2 separate regions of the Homo sapiens genome follow, and region 1 is linked to region 2. Evidence: promoter capture Hi-C in human tissues and cell types (Jung and others, 2019). All regions are on one chromosome and are shown on one strand. Each heading gives the region's core, a stretch centred on a gene start or on the middle of the fragment in contact. The rest is flanking DNA. Distances are from core to core; before and after follow the strand shown.

Region 1 (4,638 bases), core at 387-2,886, 65 kb before region 2:
CCGGAGCTCTGGCAGCTTCTCAGGGGGTCCCTGATCCAGAAGGGATCAGAGCCCTTGTGTGAAGCTGCGGGTGTCACTGCTGGGGTGGTCCCCATGTGGTGGCCCCTGCGCCCATGCTCACAGCCGTAAGCCCACCTCCCAGGCCCTGCGCCCCTCCCCATGTGGTGGCCCCGTGCCCCTCCCCGGCCCTGCGCCCCTTCCCACGGCCCTGAGGCCCCGCCCCGGCCCTGCGCCCCTCCCCACGACTCCGAGACTCCCACGCCCCGGGCCCTGCGCCCCTCCCCACGGCCCTGAGACCCCCTCCCCGGGTCCTGCGTCCCTTCCCCTGACCCTGCGCCCCTCCCCACACGGCTCTGAGAAGCCCCCCCACCCCGCCCCGGGCACTGCACCCCGTCCCCCGGCCCTGTGCCCCTCCTCACGGGCCTGAGACTCCCTTCCCGGGCCAGGCGCCCCTGCCCACAGCCCTGGGGCCCCGCCCCGGACCTTCGCCCCTCCCCACGGCCCTGAGACCCCCGCCCCGGGCCCTGCGCCCCATGGGCCTGGTGGAGGCCTAGCCTCTTGGACCCTGGCCAGACAGTAGAGGCGCCGGGTCAGCGCTGCGCAGGGAAAGGCCCCCGGCCCTGCGCCCCCACCCTGCGCACCGGGGCTGGAAGCCGGCTCGAGGCTTTCCCAGGCCGCTATTTTGGTCCTTTCTCTGGGCTGCGCGGGGGCGGGGCGCCGATGCTCCGCGGGCTGCTCTCGTGGGTCATTTTTGCTGGCTATGGGAGCGCGGCTTATGGAAATTATTAATAGCAGCTCAGGCCCGTGGTACGTGCAGGCGGTCAGGGCCCGGCCGTGCCCCGATCGCAGCCAGTGTGGCCTTGGAGCGCTCGCGGGGTGCCCGTCTCCGCCTCGTGGGAAGGGCTAGGACCCCCCAGGCCTCAGGATGCGCTGAGGCTGGGGGTCCTCAGCCTTGGCCCGTCCACTGCAGGCACCATTGTGTTCTGGGGCCCGCAGATGGGTCGTGTGGGAGGTCACGGCTTTGCGCCTTGCCTTGACCCCACCTCCTAGCCTTCCTCTGGCTCATCAGCAATCCCCGAGCAAGGCCCTGGGACCCAGGCTGTGTGGCCAGCCACCCCCTTGAGTCCCTGCTGCCCCATCCAGGCCAAGCCCAGGCCTCCCACCTGTCCCAGCCTATGCAAGGCCTGGCTCAGCACGGGGGGGCTTGTCTGCCAGGCCAGGCCCCTCGGCCTGAGGGCCACGTGGCTGAACACGGGAAGGCCCTGCACTCCGGCCTCAGTGACCAGGTGCTGGTGCAAAAGGGTGGTAGCCCCCTCACCCGCCGTGCTGCCTGGCCCCTCCCAGGCCCTGAGTAATCTGCCGCCTTTGTGTTTGCCAGGCAGCCACGCTGGGCGCGACGTTGAAGCTGCAGTCGGAGCTTGGCGTTGAAAAGGTGAACGTCTTTCTCATGTAAATTGTTTAGGTTCAAACTTGGATAACGCCCAGGTCTCTATAAACAGTGTTTGTTGGAGGTCGGGAGTCCACCAAGCCACAGTGGGGGACAGCAGGGCCATCGGGGGCCGGCGAGGGCCTCCAGAGCCCCCTAAACCACCATCCTCCTCATGGGCTGACCCCAAATCAGACGCAGCCGCACGTACACGAACCCCGTGTCCAGCTGTCCCCTGAAGCCCTGAGTGTGCTCCGTGCAGCAGCTGGGGCCACCCCTTCCCTGGAGTGGGCACCAGCTGCCTCGAGGACACGCAGCCCATGTGCTTCTGGGACCCTCCTCTGCTGCACGCCTCCACCGTGCAGTGGGCTGGGGGAAGCAGTCACCTAACTGTGAATTTCCGGACAGATGACACAGTCCTCGAACCCACAGTGTCTGCAGGGATGGCAGATCCAAGCTTCTACAATGGGACTTCGTGCACATCACAGGGACACAAGGGGAACCTGCTGGTTAAGCAGGGGCAGGGTGGGGGAGTGAGCACCCCTCGGGCAGAGCCAGGTGGGGACGGGACGCATCCTGGTCTCCCTAAAGAGGGAGGGGTGTCTACACAGCCTGCAGGGCTGTGCTCCGGGCGATGGGTGCAGACTCCAGGTCTACAAGAGCTGGGGCCAGAGAGGGCTCTTGGGGCTTCGCGTTCTGCCCGAGGACTGTCCCCCAAGGCACTGCTGGGCAGGTGGGCCCCATGCAGTCGGCGCCAGGCAGCCTCACCTGTGGGGCAGAGGAGGTGGGGGAAGGGAGGTGAGGAGTCTTCTTCGAGGGGCGTTGTCTACGGGAATTCGTTCTTGCTGAGGGAATGGCTGGTGTGCCCCAAGGCCCAGCGCCACAGCCAGGGACTCCCTCAGGGCCTCTTGGAGGCACCGACAGCGTGTGGGTCTTGCAGACCTGCTCGGGAGGCAGTGCTGGTACCATGTGCCACGAGAAGGCATTTCCGGACTACCAGGGCTACTGCCAGTGGTTTGTCTTGGTCCTGCCTCCCCACATTTGGTGACAAATGAGCTTCCCCAGGGTCCCCCTTGCCTCTTAGGGCCTCCAGGCCTTCATCATGGAGATGGGGATGGCCACAGAGCCCAGCAGGAGCCTTGGGCGAGTGTGTGTGAGCGTGAGCACTGGCCGGGCGAGCACTGCTGGGCCTGGACGGCCTCTGGGCCCCTTTCGTTCTGACACTTTGGCCGCTCCCTCTGGGTTGGAGGTGAGTCAGGTTTTGGCTGAGGTGGCGGAGGCTGTGGCCTGACCGTGTGTCCCCCTGCAGATGAGCATCCCACTGCTCCTCCAGGACAAGGTGGCCCTCGTGGAGCGCTATGTGGCCGGCTTCCCGGACCTCCAGAGGAGGCTGCTGGTCCTCATGGATTCCTGGTGCCAGCCCGGCTTTGACATCAAGGACGTTGCCAGGTGAGTCCCGTGGGGCGCTGGCAGCTGGCACCAGATGGCATCCTGGGAGCCCTGGTTAGGGAAGGGAGTGTAGGGGGGCAGCAGGCGCGTGGGAGAGCTCTCCCCAGGAAGTTCTGGTGTTTGGGTCACAGCTGCCATGTGACTGCAGCTGGAGCAGCTGCCTCTGGAGAGGAGCGGCTGGGGCTGGCAGGAGCACAGCCCTCTTCTCCCGAGTGAAAAGAGTTAACTGCTCTTAGAAGAACGAAAATAATTCTCCGTGGTGGCTCTTCTCATGCAGGCATGGCAACCGTACTGCTTTCTTGTTCATCCATTCCTTTGTTCTTTCATCTAATAAAGTTTTTGGAAGCACTTGGTGTGTGACGTCTGTCAGCAATTACAGAGAAAAGGCAGCACCTGACAAGGAGCCCATATGGTGCCTGTATGGATTCAGGGAAGCCATGTGCATGTGTGTGCATGTGTGTGCATGTATGTGTGTGCCCATGTGCATGTGTGCCTGCAGGTGTGCATGTGTGTGTCTCTGTGTGTGCACGTGATATGTGCGTGTGTGCACGTTTGTGTGTGCCTGTAGGTGTGCATGTGTGTGCATGTATGTGTGTGCCTGCAGGTGTGTGTGTGTGCATGTATATCTGTGTGTGCATTGTGTTCGTTTGTGCAGGTGTGTATGTCTGCGTGCATATGATGTGTACATGTGTGTGCCTGCAGGTGTACGTGTGTTTTCGTGCATGTGGTGTGTGTGTGCATGTATGTGTGTGCCTGTAGGTGTGTGTTTGTATGTGTGTGTGCATGGGTGTGTACGTGTGTGCATGTGTGCCTGTGCATGTGTGTGCGTGTGGTGTGTGTACATGTATGTGTGTGCACGTGTGTGTGCCTGCAGGTGTGCGTGTGTGTGCATGTGTGTGCGTGTGTACCTGTGTGTGCACTGTGTTCATGTTTGTGCAGGTCTGTGTGTGCATGCATGTGTGTGTACGTGTGTGTGCCTGCAGGTGTGCATGTGTGTGTGTGTGAGATATGAGGGATGACATCTGGGAGGGGAGGGGCTTCCTGCTCTATATCTGGTCAAGGTGCCCCGAGAGTGAAGCAAGCTGAAAGGTCTGTGAAGGCTCCAGGGCCCATCCACTGGCAGGCAGATCCCGGCCTCCATTCCCCACACAGCCCCAGGGTTGTCTCACTGGAGAGTCACAGGCTTGGACTTGGACGTCAGGCCGTCCCGGGCCCATCCTCCTCCACTTGTCCTCCAAGTCACTTCCACTTTCTGAGTTTGTTTCCTCATTCGCACAATGGGGCTGAGTCCACCTGACTCAAAGCTTGCTAAGACTTTTCATCAGAGGGAGCAGGCAGCAGCCGCACAGCGTCAGGCCAGGCACAGGTGAGCACATAGTCGGTTGCCATCGATCCTATTACTTAAAAAAAAAAAAAAAGACATAGGGCCGGGCTCGGCGGCTCACACCTGTAATCCCAGCACTTTGGGAGGCCGAGGCGGGTGGATCACAAGGTCAGGAGATTGAGACCATCCTGGCTAACACAGTGAAACCCCGTTTCTACTAAAAATACAAAAAATTAGCTGGTCACGGTAGCAGGCGCCTGTAGTCCCAGCTACTCGGGAGGCTGAAGCAGGAGAATAGCGTGAACCCAGGAGGCGGAGCTTGCAGTGAGCCGAGATAGTACCACTGCACTGCAGCCTGGGCGACAGAGCGAGACTCAGTCTCAAAAAAAAAAAAAAAACATAGAACAAAACAGTGAATGCATTGATGGAGGTGGGAACC
Region 2 (4,657 bases), core at 560-3,059:
CCAAGGGCTCTGCCCACCCCCCAGTCATGCCCTCTGCCTCTTGCCAGTCTAGCCTGGCTGGGCCCTGGGCATATGCACAAAATCCATCAATGCCCAGGACAGAGCTCCTGCCCTCCTGACAGTGAGCTCAGAGCACCCTGCACACCCAGCCCTGGTCTGAGGTCCAGAGACACAGCCAGCACCAGGGACCAGCAGGCAGCCCAGCGGCTCCCCCTCCTTAAGAGGCCAAAGGTGCCCAGCAGAGCACGGCAGGCCAGGCCATGCCATCCCTGCCCCGGGCCTGGGCTCCACAGCGCCCATCTCTGTTCTGCTGGGGGCCTACTCCGGGACTCCACTGTGTCCTCACCTGCATATTGGGGAGCACCCCTCCACCCTCCGTGGCCCCCTTGAGAGCTCCTGGGAGAAGCAGTGAGGCCCAAAGGAGAGAGCTGAACAGAACCAGCGGGATCACGGCCCCAGGAAGACCAGAGCGAGCTCTGAGCTGTGCCTTTGAGGGACAGAGGTTCCCAGCCCACCAGGAGGACCCCAGGGCCTCAGGACCCTGCTCCGGTCAGCCAGGGTCTGTCCCGAAGGGAGCCTGCCCAGTTTTTCCTGCCAGTATGGGCACAGCATGGGGTGGGGACACACCCCTGTGGGGAGCCGGATGTGGGGACATGGAGCTGGTGGGCGGAAGCCTCCTCAGACAAGGCCTGGCATGGGGGTCTCCCCAGCCCGAGCTCAGAGCTGCCTGCGCGGAATTCCCGGCTTGGCTTCAGAAGGAATTCAAGCCCCAGCCTGCCTGGCCTCCTGCTCCGCGCCTGAGAATCACTCCTCCTTAATTTCCAACGACCACAGCGAGTTGTAAACTGTAAAACTCTAATGAGGAAATGCGCTGTGCTTCCCCTGCTAGTGCCTCCCGGTCAATTGTTAGAGTGGTCAATAAAAATGGGTTTTACAGTTTGGAAGCCAGGCGTTTCAGAATTCCCTTCTGGCCCTGGCGCCACACCTAGCCCTGCTCACCTGGGCAGGACCTATGTGTCCCGCATGCTGGTGCGTGGGCAGCAGAGGGAGGCAGGCCGCGGTCCCGACCCTCCCGCTGCGCCCCGGCCCGGGGCTTCCTCCCGAGAGGACAGCGGAACCCCCTTCACCGCCAGGCGATAGAAGCCGCGGTGGCCGGCCGGAGGCCCCTCGCATCAGTACGGTTGGGGCACACATAGGCTGAGCCGGCGGCCATGAGGCTGCCCGCGCGCGGGAAGGACCCGCGTGGCTGAAGGCCCCACGTCAGGGCCTGGAGTTGCCACCCGCGTGGACGGTGAGCCCGGAGGCGCGGGCTGGCCGGGGTCGCCGCGCGCCTCTCCGCTCAGAGGGGTCTCTCCTTCGCCACGGGCCTGAGATGCCCGCGAACCCCCTGCCCGGGAGAGGCCGCCCTCGGGGCCACCTGGCGGTCGCGCTCGGGTACCGGGCAAGGCCTGGGTCTGGCTGCTGAGGGAGCTTGGAATTCCCCGGGTGGCCGGAGGGAGAAGGGGCGGGACGACCGCAAAGAGACGCGGAGCGCCCGGGGGGCGCGCGGACGGCGGCGGCGACGGAGCTGGACCCCCCCGGCGGCCACCTGGCCTCCCCCGCCCAGGCGCTGCCGGCGACCAGCGCCCCCTGCCGCGAAGCGCGCCGCCGCCGGGACCCGCCCCCGGACCCCTGCGCACGGCACCGCCCACGCCCCGCCCCCATGTGGGCGCGGCCCAATCCCGGGGCCGCCGGCGCGCGCGTCACGGGCTGCCATTGTTATGCAAATATAAAGAAGGTAAAAGGCGCCCCGGCGCGGCGGGCGAGCTAGTGCTGCGGCGCGTGGGGAGGCGCCTTGGGACCGCGTGGGAGCCGCAGCCGAACCGAGTAGGGACCGGGACCGCGCGGCGCCGCCGTCCCCGGCCGGGCCCGGCCCCCGCGAGCCGAGCGCGCGCCCCCGTCGCCCACCCGGGCGCGGCTGGATGCGGCGGGGTCCCCGCGGCGGCGACCCCCGGCCCCGAGCGCCCGGAGCGCCCAGAGGCGGCGTGCGGGGCCCGGGGACGCCGCGCCCTCCATGCGCCGAGGCGCGCCCCGAGACAGCCGGGGGCCCGCGCCGCAGCCGCCGCCCGCGCTGAGCCCCGGCCCGGCCCGCGGCCCGCGCCCGGCGGCAGCATGAGCCAGGCCGAGCTGTCCACCTGCTCCGCGCCGCAGACGCAGCGCATCTTCCAGGAGGCTGTGCGCAAGGGCAACACGCAGGAGCTGCAGTCGCTGCTGCAGAACATGACCAACTGCGAGTTCAACGTGAACTCGTTCGGGCCCGAGGGCCAGACGGCGCTGCACCAGTCGGTCATCGACGGCAACCTGGAGCTCGTGAAGCTGCTGGTCAAGTTCGGCGCCGACATCCGCCTGGCCAACCGCGACGGCTGGAGCGCGCTGCACATCGCCGCGTTCGGTGGCCACCAGGACATCGTGCTCTATCTCATCACCAAGGCGAAGTACGCGGCCAGCGGCCGGTGATGCCCGCCGGGACCCCGGACCCCGGCCCTGCGCCCGCGTCGTCTCTGCTGTACCTTCCCGCCAACTACCTCGGTGCGCGCCCGGCTCGCAGGCCCCGCCAGAAGGCCCGTGGCCACGGCGAATACGGCGCGTGCGTCCCGGCCCCAGGGTCCGGCAGCCCCGCCGGCCGAGCGCCTCCCTGCGGCCTAGCCGGGCCCGGCCGGGCCGGAGCAGCTTCCCACGGCCCCCACCCGCTCGCCTGCCCGCCGCCTCGCGGGTGGGGGCGGGGCGCGGGCTCCAGCCCCTTTTGAAATTTGAGTCTCGCAACCAGCAAGTTCGGAATCCCGAGATACCGGATCCTCTGCGCAAAATGTTTTCTCCCGAAGGTGAAAGGCGGGCGGCGGGAGCCGAAGGCGGACTCGGAGCGCTCCGCCGCCGCCTTCAGGACCCGCCCGCAGGCCCGGGACGCGCCGATGCCGGCTGCAGCCGAGGAGCAGCCCCGAGGTCCGAGGTCCGCGCCGCTGGCGCGCGGCCGAGGAGACGCTCGGCTGTTCGCTGTTGCTGGTGTTCTAAACTATTTATCTTGTGTGTGTACATTTGTGGGTGGAGTTTGTGCGCCTGGTTTTTTTGTTTGGAAAACACTGCGTGGTCAATGTGGTTATGGGGGGGAGTGATGCATTTTTTTCTAGTCTTAAAACTAAAAACTTGAGTCTACCATTTCTTGGTTGCACTGAAAATACCGCCCAGCCTGATGGTGTTCCCGTGCTGTCCCTCCCCCTTCCCTTCTCCCCGCGTCTACCTCCCCACCCCGTTCTGTTCCCCCTCCCTCCTTCTCCCTCTCCCTCAAATCCGTGAGTTTTGGAAGCCCCAGGGCCTCTCTCCCCCGCCCCTCCTGGATGAGGCCACCATCCCCCAAACCGGCTTGTTTTGCAGTTTCCCCAGGATCCTGGAAGCTCGCTGGCGCTCGAGGGTGGCGGGGACACGGGGGGGTGGGTGAAGGTTCGTTACCTTTTCTAGTGCGTTCTATCATAGTTAACGGTTGCACACTTTTTTAAAAAAAGTAAATGGATTTGCCACAATTAAATGTCATAACATTTATGACAGAATATAAAATATTAACATATTTTAAGCCAAGTTTTAGGTGTATTTTTTGAATCTTGGTTATAAACCCAATTTTAAAGGGCGATGTATCCAGCGTTGTGAAGGCAACAGAGTGTACCCATATTTATATTTTTATAAAATACCTATAAGACTGTGAATCTCTTGTGCTAATGGCTGAGTTAATTGAAGGATCGTTTTGCCCCTTTTTAGCCTCCCAGAGCTTCGAGGACTCAATTCGAACCCGAAATCCTGCCGTGGGGGAGGGGTTGCGTCGAGACCTGGGCCCGGGGAGGTTCTCCTGCGTCACTTTCTGTCCTGAAAGGCGCCCTTCCTGGTTTCTGTGGCTCCAATTTTCTATGCAGCCCCACACCCCTTGTTGTTTTGATCCTGAGAAATAAAAGGGAGGCTGAATTATTCAAATTTAAATGAGGTTTCCCCTTCATGGAAGTGCTGCTGACCCTTCGTGCAGAAATGGGGAGCACTTGAGGACACAGGTGGGTGGAGGCCCTTTGTGCGTGGCTGGTCGTATTCGGGCAGCCCTCCGTCGCTTTTTATAAAACTTTGTGTGAGAAGAATATATTGATAATGTCAGTGAAACAAGCAGACATTGAAATGGAGGCACAGATTACTCCACAAGGAGTTCTTCTGTATATTTTTTCTAGATGCAAATACCTTTTTAATTATGTTAATTAATGTTAAGACTTTCTAGGCTTATATCGAAGCTGTGTGTGGGTCACGGGGTGATCACTGCTAACTGGATAAAGTTTGTGCAGCACATTCCTGAGTGTACGATATTGACCTGTAGCCCAGCGTGAAAAATTTATAAATAAATTTTTCATTGATCTTTTTATATTAAAAAAAAGTTTCTTGGTCCTTCTTGGCTTTGGCACAAGTTGCAGAACACCCTCTCTGGGGACGAGGGTCAGGCTGTGACACGGTTTGTGGGTGCTGGGTGCACAATGCTTGGCTTGTATTTGTCTGAAGACAGAGCCTGGTAAACTCGCTCCCAGCCCCACGCAACGGCCAAGCCCAACCCGGCTGCACACAGGACTCACGAGGACCCAGCACCTCCAGCGTGCCC

Evidence for each region. The method cuts DNA at HindIII sites, captures the fragments that hold promoters and counts their contacts. A contact is called where the count stands out against the background at its distance.
Region 1: a fragment that was not itself captured here is called in contact with the fragment with the promoter of NRARP in region 2 in 3 of the 25 tissues and cell types used here (dorsolateral prefrontal cortex, pancreas and spleen).

The regions. Positions count from the first base shown.
Region 1 is chr9:137,364,730-137,369,367 of GRCh38, reverse strand. It overlaps EXD3 (exonuclease 3'-5' domain containing 3), which reads left to right. Exons shown (of 22, transcript NM_017820.5): 6 at 1,379-1,432; 7 at 2,736-2,875. Among named protein-coding and RNA genes, the nearest start is that of EXD3, 56 kb to the left of the region's middle. RefSeq lists an enhancer at 529-1,130. The HindIII fragment of the contact is 6,555 bases long and covers 1-4,638 here.
Region 2 is chr9:137,299,423-137,304,079 of GRCh38, reverse strand. NRARP (NOTCH regulated ankyrin repeat protein) reads left to right here and starts at 1,809. Exons shown (of 1, transcript NM_001004354.3): 1 at 1,809-4,449. The coding sequence starts at 2,152. The coding sequence ends at 2,496. RefSeq lists silencers at 1,250-1,889, 2,572-2,651, 2,722-2,781, 2,902-2,951 and enhancers at 1,592-2,510, 4,310-4,657. The HindIII fragment of the contact is 30,312 bases long and covers 1-4,657 here.